Regions from separate parts of the Homo sapiens genome. Here region 1 is linked to region 2. Evidence: promoter capture Hi-C in 16 types of primary human blood cells and fetal thymus (Javierre and others, 2016). All regions are on one chromosome and are shown on one strand. Each heading gives the region's core, a stretch centred on a gene start or on the middle of the fragment in contact. The rest is flanking DNA. Distances are from core to core; before and after follow the strand shown. Region 1 overlaps DMAC2L (distal membrane arm assembly component 2 like). Region 2 holds the start of KLHDC1 (kelch domain containing 1).

Region 1 (6,113 bases), core at 1,953-4,452, 630 kb after region 2:
GCTAATAGAAAATGCAGATGATTTGCAGTGACCATTTTGTTGCAGTTGACTCACGATTATAGTCATAGGTATGTCCTTTTTGCCCATTTCATTATAGTCAAGTTTGTTTCTTCCTGTGTTTGATATTTATTTTCAAATTAAATTGAGGTTACAGACACCTTCCTCTCCTTCCTCCTCTCACTAAGCTTGTTTCTGTATGTCTCTAGTCTTTGGTTTATTGACTTAAAATCCAGGGCCTTGTTTGTCAAACTATCTTTGTCAAACTTCTGTCATTGAGAAGCCCTCAATAATGCAGGAATAATTATATCCACACAGCTTCTGCTTACGTGGGCATTTTTTTTTCTTTCTTTCTTTTTTTTTTTTTTGAGACAGAGTCTTGCTCTGTCGCCTAGGCTGGAGTGCAGTGGCGCGATCTCAGCTCACTGCAAGCTCTGCCTCCCAGGTTCACGCCATTCTCCTGCCTCAGCCTCCTGAGTAGCTGGGACTATAGGCGCCCGCCACCATGCCCGGCTAATTTTGTTTTTGTATTTTTAGTAGAGATGGGGTTTCACCGTGTTAGCCAGGATGGTCTCGATCTCCTGACCTCATGATCCGCCTGCCTCGGCCTCCCAAAGTGCTGGGATTACAGGTGTGAGCCACTGCACCCGGCCTCTTTTTTTTTTTTTTTTTTTTTGAGACAGAGTCTCACTCTGTCACCAAGGCTAGAGTGCAGTGGCGTGATCTTGGCTCACTGCAACCTCTACCTCCTGGGTTCAAGTGATTCTCCTGCCTCAGCCTCCCAAGTAGCTGGGACTACAGGTGTGCACTACCACGCCAGGGTAATTTTTCTATTTTTAGTAGAGACAAGGTTTTGCCGTGTTGACCAGGCTGGTCTTGAATTCCCGACCTCAGGTGATCCACCCGCCTCAGCCTCCCAAAGTGCTGGGATTACAGGTGTGAGCCACTGGGCCTGGCCCTATGTGGGCATTTCTTTCCTCCAGTGTGTGGGCATCTGACTGCGGAATGGTCCTGTCCATCAGCACAAGCTCTATAGTGAATTCCTTATATGGTTAATAGGGTGAGCAGTCATTCCAGTTTTCATGGAACTAAGAGGTTTCCCAGGACATAGGACTTTCAGTCCTAAAACCAAGTCAGTCGTGGGCAAACCAGGACAGTTTGTCATCTTAGTGGTAAAGCAGATTCTTAATCTGTACTTTTTCTCCCCAGAGGGCCTAGAGCATGTTGAAAAAATAAGGCTGTGCAAGTGTCATTATATCGAGGATGACTGTTTGCTGAGACTTAGTCAACTTGAAAATTTACAAAAAACCATATTGGAAATGGAAATAATATCCTGTGGGAATATCACAGACAAAGGCATCATTGCTTTGCGTCATTTAAGGTAGATGATCAAAGCCAAAGTGGAAACTTGATAATGCTGTTAAGGTGAATAGTTAGAATTTAATTGACTGTGAGGGGTGGTGTCTTTTTTTAGTTCTAAAAAAGATAATTTTAAAAAATGACCTCACTTTCATCTGTAATATTTTAAAACAGCTAAAATGATCAACCTTAATACATTAATGTTGTATTGAATTTTTTATAGAGTATATTTTAAAAAATTAAATCTACATTAAGCACCTAGCATGGTGCCTGCCACAGTAAGCCCTCAGTAAGCATCAACGATTATGCTTTCTCTCCTTTTTTTTTAAAGCAGTTTCTCCTATGGTTTTAATATTTTCAAGACATTTGGTATATACCTATTAGCATTTTACTGTGTAATTATTTTGCTTGAGGGGAGAAAAACCTTGAAATATTCACCTTTCTGTCTCTAGAGCCTAGAACACTGCCTGACACTGTAATAATCATCAAAAGCATGCATCCACTGGTTAGGAAAGCTGTTCTACATCCTCTTGTGCCACCAACCAGACCCACGCCATGGCCTGGAGCAAGTCACCTAATCCCAAATGCAAAAACAGATAATACTAGCAAGGAATGTTTAATTCTAAAATTTGTAAGATTCTGAGTCTCATCGGCGTGATGAAAAAAGAATAGAAGTTTTTTTGTTTGTTTGTTTTTTTGAGACGGAGTCTTGCTTTTGTTGCCCAGGTTGGAGTGCAGTGGCATGATCTTGGCTCACTACAACTTCCGCTTCCTGGGTTCAAGCGATTCTCCTGCCTCAGCCTCCTGAGTAGCTGGGATTAAAGGCGTGCACCACCACGCCCGGCTAATGTTTGTATTTTCAGTAGAGATGGGGTTTCGCCATGTTGGCCAAGCTGGTCTCGAACTCCTGAACTCATGATCCGCCCGCCTCGGCCTCCCAAAGTGCTGGGATTACAGGCGTGAGCCACCGTGCCCGGCCTAGAAGTTTGTTTAATCAAATCCCTGTGTTAGAGATCTCAACATTCAAATTATGTATCTAATTAATGTAGTTCTGCTTTAATATATAATGGATCTGCCAGTAACCTCAGTATCACAGGAAGTTTAAGAAATTTTAAACATTAGGACCAAAAGTACTAGATTGTTCATCTCTTACATTACTTGAAGCTTCAAAGCTTCATCTTTTAGTAGAAACTCTAGTATCTAAGAATTTTCCCAGCTTTTGCCCTTTTGGGGTTGAGATTCACATTTCATGTTTCACATGCAAAGAATATCTACATCATTATAAATATATATTTTATTTAGAATGATTCAGCTAGAAATATTGATGTAACCCAAAGTCTGTGTTACTTCCTGGCATGAATTTCATCTCTAAGGCTACTGCTCTAAAAGTAATTTTGAAGGCATAGGGTGATATAGATTCATTTTCTACATAATTTTCTTTCTTTAAGTCAGTAAATTGAATTTATTTTTAATGCTCTTGGCCAAATTGAAGTGACTTTTTTCTTTATTTGCAGAAACCTCAAATATTTGTTGTTAAGTGATCTTCCTGGAGTAAGAGAAAAAGAAAATCTTGTCCAAGCCTTTAAGACAGCACTGCCTTCTCTGGAACTAAAATTACAATTGAAGTAAAATAATGTGTCTTATTTCAGTATAAAGGATCATTTGAAACTGTTGATTCCAAACATCAACTAATATTATATAGTCATCAGTAGAATTATAAGGATGCCATATCATGACATTTTAGAAGTGGAGAGTGCATCATATGTAGAAAATAAATATTCAGACGTGGCTCATTAATGTTACTAAGTTGGAAGTGAGAATTTATGAACATTAATTCATTTTAAGAAAAGTGCAGCCAGGCGCAGTGGCTCATGCCTGTAATCCTAGCACTTTGGGAGGCCAAAGCGGGCAGATCACCTGAGGTCAGGAGTTCAAGACCAACCATGGCCAACATGGTGAAACCCCATCTCTACTAAAAAAACAAAATTAGCTGAATGTGGTGGTGCACGCCTTTAATCCCAGCTACTCTGGAGGCTGAGGCAGGAGAATCACTTGACTTGGGAGGTGGAGGTTGCAGGGACCCGAGATTGTGCCACTGCACTCCAGCCTGGGTGACAGAGCGAGACTGTCTCAAAAAAAAAAAAAAAAGAAAAATGTAAACTAGGTAACATTTTAATTCTAATATATTCATTTAATATGTAAATCTATAGATATCTCTTGATGTAGATATTTAGAATCCTTTAAAGTTATTTGTACAACAGATGTTTTTATTATAACAGTAATTTACATTTAACTTTAAAGTTAGTGAAGCATACTACCATAAATGCACAATTATGAAAAATTAGAAGCTAAATTACAGATTCATTGATGGAGTCAATTATGCAAAGTGGTCAGTGGTTGTTGAAGCATGCATTGCTTCAACAGGATTTGCGTGCATTTCCCATGATCCTGCATTCTTGTGTTCTTGATAGCATACAGACTTACTCAGAATCAACAGTTGCTGCTTAATTTGTCTATTTTGTAAGCTTAGGCTACTATTTTATTAAAACTGGACATAGATACTTGGCTGAATACAAATAGTTTTGCAGATTGCAATATAATAAAGGAAACAGTAAAAACTAGTGGGCTATGCTTAGGTTTTTCTTGAAACCTAACATTGCTTTAGGCTGGGTGCCGTGGCTCGTGCCTGTAATCCCAGTGCTTTGGGAGGCTGAGGTGGGAGGATCACTTGAGACCAGGAGTTTGAGACCAATTTGGGCAACACAGTGAGACCCCATCTCTAAAAAAATTTTAAAAATTAGGCAGGCATGGTGGTGCATACCTGTAATCTCAGATACTTGGGAGGTTGAGGTGGTAGGATTGCTTGAGCTCAGGAGTTTGAGGCTGCAGTAAGCTATGATCACGGCCACTGCACACCAGCCTGGTAGCCTGGGTGAAAGGGGGAGACCCTGTCTCTTAAAAAAAAGGGCTGGCCTGTAATCCCAGCACTTTTGAAGGCCAAGGCAGGCAGATCATTTGAGCCCAGGAGTTCAGGACGAGCCTGGGCAACATGGCAAAACCCTGTCTCTACCAAAAAATTAAAAAATAAAAAATAGCTGGGTGTAGTGGCACATGCCTGTAGTCCCAACTACTCAGGAGTCTGAGGTAGGAGGATCAGTTGAGCCCGGGAAGTCGAGGCTGCAGTGAGCCATGTTGGCACCACTGCACTCCAGCCTGGGCAACAGATTAAGACCCTGTCTCAAAAAAAAAAAAAAAAGTGAAAAATAGATAAAACAGGTCTTCATTGTTACCTGTGAGAAATGGCCCTGATTCTATTACTCTTATATGCCAGTTTGTTTATAGATTTCTGTGTGTTTGATTTGAACTTTTTTTTTTTTTTTTTTTTTTTTGAGACAGACTCTCACTCTGTTGCCCAGGTTGGAGTGCAGTGGTGTGATCTCAGTTCACTGCAACCTCTGCCTCCCGGGTTCAAGCAGTTCTCTGTCGCAGCGTCCCAGGTAGCTGGGATTACAGGCGCCCACCACCACGCCCAGCTAATTTTTGTACTTTTAGTAGAGACAGGGTTTCACCATCTTGGCCAGACTGGTCTTGAACTCCTAACCTCAGGATCCACCCGCCTCGGCCTCCCAAAGTGCTGGGAGCCACCGCGCCCAGCCTGGTTTGAACATTATTAAGCTGTTGAATATAAACTTGAAAATAATTTTCTATGATACAGCTTTCAGGTAGAAAAATGAATTTTCGTTGTGTTTAACAATGTTGTGTTTAACAGCTTATACAAATAACACAGTATAAATGGTAATTGCCACTGTCATTTTAAAAATCAGAAAATAGTAAATAAAAGGATGTGGAAGAGTCTCATGTGATACAGTGGAGATTTCATACCGAATAAAAGCATTATAAATATGGTTAAATTGAACATAAGCATAAATTTAACGGAACTCATTAGAAAAAAATAAGCCTTTTTTCTCAGGTTTGTTTCATTACTGTATGGTGAGACAACTGATTCACCACGATTTAGTCTAGAGCTACTTTTCTATTCTGAATAGTTTTTGGTAAAACTATTGGCTGAATTATTAGGCTGTTATAGTAATCTGCCTCCGTCAAGTGTATTTTCTTGGGTTAAGGAAAAAAAAATTTTTTTTTAACTATTCACGGAAGCTGGATGTTCTTCCTTGTCATTTGAATCAAGGCCGTCTAACAGGAATTGAATAATTCAGGGACTAGCATTTAACCCATATCAGGTCTAGGCAAGAAAAGACATACATTAGGAAGCCTTAGGATATCATTAAACTGCCTAGGGTAGTCAAAATTATTGAGTAGACACCAGACCTCAGTGGATTACTTAAGTAAATGGGGTCAGATGTCATCATGAAGAAAATTAACAGGAAGAAAATGAGAGTACAGAAGAAATGTTTTGAAAATAGAGTGAAATACAACTTTGAAGACCATGGCTGAGAAGTGCTAGGAATAGTGGCAGCACATCAACCAGAAATGGTGTTGAGCTGTAAGAAACAGACGTCAGGCTTCATATTGCCCTTGTGTCCAGGGGACAAGGATGAAAAAGCTTTTTGATTAAGAGCAGTAGACCAAATCAAAGCTAATTATGTCATTTTGGCCAGGCGCAGTGGCTCATGCCTGTAATGCCAGCACTTTGGAAGGCCAAGGCGCTCAGATCACGTGAGCCCAGGAGTTCAAGACCAGCCTGGGGAACATGGCAAAACCCTGCCTCTACCAAAAAATACAAAAAAATTAGCCAG
Region 2 (5,631 bases), core at 2,899-5,398:
ATAAAACAGGAGGATGATTTCACAGTACCAATATAAAGTGACCTCCAACGTATACGGGTTTTTTTCTTTTTTAAAAAAAAGCGAAGTTTAATGAAGGAAGGGAAACAAAAGTATATGTATTTGTTTTTGCATTTTAAAAACCTCTGGGCCCGGGCGCGGTGGCTCACATCTGTAATCCCAGAACTTTGGGAGGCCGATGCTGGCAGATCACTTGAGGCCAAGAGTTCGAGAACAGCCGGGCCAACATGGTGAAACCCCGTCTCTACCAAAAAAAAAAAAAAAAAAAAAAAATTAGCCAGGCGTGGTGGCGCGCGCCTGTAATCCCAGCTCCTGGGGAGGTTGAGGCAGGAGAATCTCTTGAGCCTCGGAGGCGGAGGGTGCAGTGAGCCGAGATCGTGCCACCACTCCAGCCTGGGCAACAAAGCAAGGCTCTGTCTCAAAAACAAAAAAAGCCGGGCGCAGTGGTTCACGCCTGTAATCCCAGCACTTTGGGAGGCCGAGGTGGGCGGATCATCTGAGGTCAGGAGTTCGAGACCAGCCTGACCAACATGGAGAAACCCCGTCTCTACAAAAATACAAAAAAATTAGCCAGGCATGGTGGCGCATGCCTGTAATCCCAGCTACTCGGGAGGCTGAGGCAGGAGAATTGTCTGAACCCGGGAGACAGAGGTTGCGGTGAGCCGAGATGGGGCCATTACACTCCAGCCTAGGCAACAAGAGTGAGACTCTGTCTCAAAACAACAGCAACAACAACAACAAAACAACTCTGGAAGGTTAAATCAGAGACCACAAAAATGGTTAACTACAAAGGGGTGAGGGGATAGGGATGAAAGTGAAAACTTTCTTTACAGTGAGACTTTTAATCCATGTGCATGTTTTACATATTCAAAAAATAGAAAATAAAAAGGTGAGCTTAAAATTGAATGCATACTAAAACTAATACACCTAATTGTATATTAAATTGGTAACATAACATCACAAGTGATTTTTGAACACAGTTCTCTTTATTTAGTGAAATATTTTTCAAAGACAAAAAGTACAAAGAAATTTTTAATTTTTATGTAAGAAAGGATAGGAAATACGAATAGAAAGACATATAGTTAATTCTCATTACTGTACCTGTGATAGTTAGATTTTATAAGTAGCCACCAACAAATAATTATTGAATACTAAACCATTCCTACTAGGGGAAGTACAGAATTAGGTTCCTGTGAGCCTCTGGTGACAATGTTTTCATCAACTGATCAACATATAACCTTGTTTTGTTTTTTTTTTTTTTTTTTTTTTGAGACGGAGTTTCGCTCTGTCGCCCAGGCTGGAGTGCAGTGGCGCGATCTCGACTCACTGCAAGCTCCGCCTCCCGGGTTCACGCCATTCTCCTGCCTCAGCCTCCCGTGTAGCTGGGACTACAGGCGCGCGCCACCATGCCCGGCTAATTTTTGTATTTTTAGTAGAGACGGGGTTTCACCGTGTTAGCCAGGATGGTCTCGATCTCCTGACCTCGTGATCCCCCCGTCTCGGCCTCCCAAAGTGCTGGGATTACAGGCGTGAGCCACCGCGCCCGGCCTATAACCTTGTTTTATGTGTGTTTTTATGTAAAGACATCTTTACATTGTGATTCGTTAACACTGAACTCAGGGCCAAGAGCCCTATAACTCATAGCTGAAGGAAGCTTATTTATCACATGTATTTTCTCCATAAGGCACTCCCACTCTCAAATAATTCAACAAAATGAAAAAGACAGACACACACATACCAACAAACATAAAGCTAGTATGGTAGTATTAATAATTATTAACCTGGAGTGGAAGATACACAGGTACTCTTTGAACTATTTTTTCAACTTTTTTTGGTTTGCTACTTTTTATATTAAGAAATTGGAGAGAAAATAATCAATTCCAGTTGCCCAGCTTTCTCTCACAATCTGACCTCACAATTCCCCTTTTCCCATAAATGTTCCCAATCATAATTCTCTTTCTCTAATAAATTTTCAACTTCTTCTATGGCTCCTTCACCTGGCCAGCTCATAAAGTCCCAATACTTAAATGAACAATTATATGCTGATGACTCCAAAATCCCTATCTCTAGCCCTTAGCTCTCTTAGACTTCAAATCCAACTCAATATGCCTCCAAATGAACTCACCATTAGCCCTGCCCTCCCCCAAACCTGTTCCTCCTCCCATGTTCAATAACCTAGCGAAGGGCTCCACCCACCTCCCACCCAGTGACCAAGCTGGTAAACTAGGCATATCCTTGACTCTTCCCTCTCACGAATGAAAGTTCCTTGAACAACTTCCGTTCATCATTCAGTTCTTAACTTAGACTTTACTTTCTCTCAGGAACCTTCCCTGTCTTCCCTCAATCTGAGTTAAAGGGCCTCTGTACACCCAAGGTGCCCTGGACTTTTGCTATTTTCACACTTACTGCACGGTATGGTAATTGTCTGTTTGCTGGTCTATAGACTCCACCAGACTCTACAGTCCAGGAGGACAAATGCTCCATTTCAAAAATACAATACCAATATTACTAGTAACAATAAAGTGATGGAGTGAGAATTATGATTGACATATAGTTTACACTAAGTAAAATGCACATATCTGTATGCAGTTCAATGCATTTTGATAAATGTATACACCCATGTAACCACCACCTCAATCAAGATACAGAACATTTTAATCACTCCAGAACACTTCCTGTACTCCTTTCCATCAGTCCCCTCCCCCTCCCTACTCCCAAATGACCACTTTTCTGCTTTCTATTATCATAGATCACTTTTGTCTATCTTGAATTTCTTCCTTCCTTCCTCCCTTCCTCCCTCCCTCCCTTCTTCCTTCCCTCCCTTCCTCCTTTTTCTTTCTTTCTCTCTCCCTTTCCCTCTCTCTCTCTTTCTCTCTTTCTTTCTAAGGAACCTTGCTCTGTCGCCCAGACCGGAGTGCAGTGGCGCGATCTCGGTTCACTGCAACCTCCACCTCCCGGGTTAAAGCGATTCTCTTGCCTTTGTAGCTGGGATTACAGGCATGCGCCACCACGCCCGGCTAATTTTTGTATTTTTAGTAGAGACGGGATTGCCCAGGTTGGCCAGGCTGGTCTCAAACTCCTGAGCTCAAGTGATCCGCCTACCTCATCCTCCCAAAGTGCTTAGATGAGAGGCGTGAGCCACTGCAATCCAGTTACATTTGTAAAGTTAAATATGCATTTATCCTCTGACCCAGCAATTCCACATCTAGAACTCTACTCCAAAGATAGGCTTGTACAAATACAAAATAACATATGCATAACGTTTCATCGCAGCATTATTTATGATAGCCAAAAAAACCTGGAAATAACCGATATGTCCATCAATAAGAATCTGTTTGAATAAGCTATGACACATCCAATCGGTGGAGTGCTATGAAGCTATGAAAAGGACTGAGGAGACTGCTTGCTGTATCCTGATATGGATCGTCAAGTGAAAAGAGAAAGTTAAGGAACACTGTATATACTTCCTTTTGTGTAAGAAAAGGAGCAGATACTCTGTTTATTTGTATAGTCAAAAATAAACAATAGAAAGTATCATTAAAGTGCACCAGACTTAAGTGCCTTCTAATGTGATGCAATATGAAGTATTTTCCAAAAAAAAATCTGAACTAGAATCTAATAAAGCTTTTAGATACAGCTTCCAGCCTAAAAGAAGTATGGGGAAAGGATGCACAAGTTAATGAGAAAAGACACTGAGGAACCAAACCCAGAAGGTGGTACGGCTGTAGGAAAATAAGAAAACTAATCCATATAACAAACAAATGGCACAAGAGAGAAGGGAGAGAAGCTATTCTAGAGTAAAACAGACGTAAAGTCTTAAGAGGCGTTAACAACGAATTACGGTGCTGAACAAACCAACTATAGAAAAGACATTTTGAGATAATCAAGGAATCTGACTACAGACTGACTACTAAATGAGGCTGTACTGCCAAAACACAATTCCAAGAGAGAAGGAATCTGCGCGTGGAAAGCCCAGGCCCCTTGCCCACTGCGAGGAGCCAGAACGTCCCTCCACAGCCGCGCCGCCCCTGGCTCGACTTCCCGAGCGAGAGCCGCGGGACGTTGCAGACGCACTGGCTCCGCCTTCCCACCAATCTCGACCCTCGCCGCGTTCCGTTCGTGCGTGGAGCAGTCGGGGCTGGAGGCGAGGCCGCCGGGCGGGCAGGGGTTGTGGCGCGGCAAGCGGCGGGCCAGCGACGGCGCGAATGGCGGACTCTCAGCTGTTCTGTGTGGCGGAGGAACGCAGCGGCCACTGCGCCGTGGTGGACGGAAACTTCCTCTACGTGTGGGGGGGCTACGTGGTAAGGGGAAGAGGCGGGACGGGGTAGACTCGCGCCGGGAGACCCTCGGCCTGAGCGGACGCAGCGCCCGCCACACCCGCTCCCGAGGCTGCGGCCCAGGCCTGGCGCGCCCGGCGCCTGCAGCCCCCCAGCCCCTCCGCTGGCCGCCGCCCCCACAGCCGCGCCAGGGCTTGACGTCGTCCCGCCGTTGCTTCTTCTATTAAAGCCTCAGACCCGGCTCCGGGCCTCTTACCACTCTCCGCCCCTCTTTGCCAGCAATTCAGTAACCACGGTTTGCCCAATGCAAAGGCAGTTACAGCGCGATTAATTATTATCCTTAAATACTGGCGCAGACCTAGAAGGACCCGAGGACGCCGTGCTGTATCATTTTGTATATATTTCCTTATTCCCACGGCGCGATTCGAAATAAAATATCGAAATCACTGAAGCATTTAAATATTTATTTTCTTTTCTTTTTCTTTTTTTTTTTTTTTTGAGATGGAGTTTCGCTCTTGTTGCCCAGGGCTGGAGTGCAATGGAACGATCTCAGCTCACCGCAACCTCCGCCCCCCGCCCCGGGTTCAAGCGATTCTCCTGCCTCAGCCTCCCTAGTAGCTGGGCTTACCGGCATGTGCCATCATGCCTGGCTAATTTTGTATTTTTAATAGAGACAGGGTTTCCCATGTTGGTCAGGCTGGTCTTGAACTCGCGACCTCAGGTGATCCGCCCGCCTTGGCTTCCCAAAATGCTGGGATTACAGGCATTAGCCACTGTGCCTGGCTTGCATTTTAAATATTTCTAAGCTATTTTTAGTGGCGTTTCTTTACTAATGACTATTTTTTCTAGTCTCAAAATAGACGCATGTTAGCAATAATATGCTAAGAAATATTATGCTTTAAAATTCTTACTACAATGGAGGTTTGAGCGTATGTGTGTGTTGTGTGTCCATAATCACAGAATTATAGAAGCAAGAATGGTAAAGCTGGAAAACAGGAATACTATATGCCAACCCTCTTAGTTTACAGATTTTTTTTCTTAAGCCATCTGGAAGTTCTACTGATAGTAGAACCTACATCTTCTGTCTCCCTACCATTATGTGACAGACCTGTAACGTGACTGAATCATATTGAAATGACCAACATACAGGCATACCTCGAAGTATTGCAGAATACTTCGTATGACTGCAATAAAGCGAGGTCATACGAATTTTTTTGGTATCTCAGTGCATATAAAAGTCATGTTTACATTGTAGTGTGTTAAGCATGCAATAGTATTATGTGTAAAAAAAAAATGTACATACCTGGCTGGGCGCGGTGGCTCACACCCGTAATCC

What was found. The method cuts DNA at HindIII sites, captures the fragments that hold promoters and counts their contacts. A CHiCAGO score of 5 or more calls a contact.
Region 1: a contact is called between a fragment that was not itself captured here and the fragment with the promoter of KLHDC1 in region 2, in 1 of 17 cell types (monocytes). The highest score is 5.6, in monocytes.

The regions. Positions count from the first base shown.
Region 1 is chr14:50,322,739-50,328,851 of GRCh38, forward strand. It overlaps DMAC2L (distal membrane arm assembly component 2 like), which reads left to right. Exons shown (of 6, transcript NM_001382507.1): 5 at 1,207-1,378; 6 at 2,871-5,219. The coding sequence ends at 2,985. CDKL1 (cyclin dependent kinase like 1) reads right to left here. Exons shown (of 10, transcript NM_004196.7): 10 at 3,527-6,113. Among named protein-coding and RNA genes, the nearest start is that of DMAC2L, 13 kb to the left of the region's middle. The HindIII fragment of the contact is 1,353 bases long and covers 2,527-3,879 here.
Region 2 is chr14:49,688,972-49,694,602 of GRCh38, forward strand. It overlaps KLHDC1 (kelch domain containing 1), which reads left to right and starts at 4,149. Exons shown (of 13, transcript NM_172193.3): 1 at 4,149-4,319. The coding sequence starts at 4,224. RefSeq lists an enhancer at 1 and silencers at 4,294-4,343, 4,354-4,523. The HindIII fragment of the contact is 4,227 bases long and covers 3,641-5,631 here.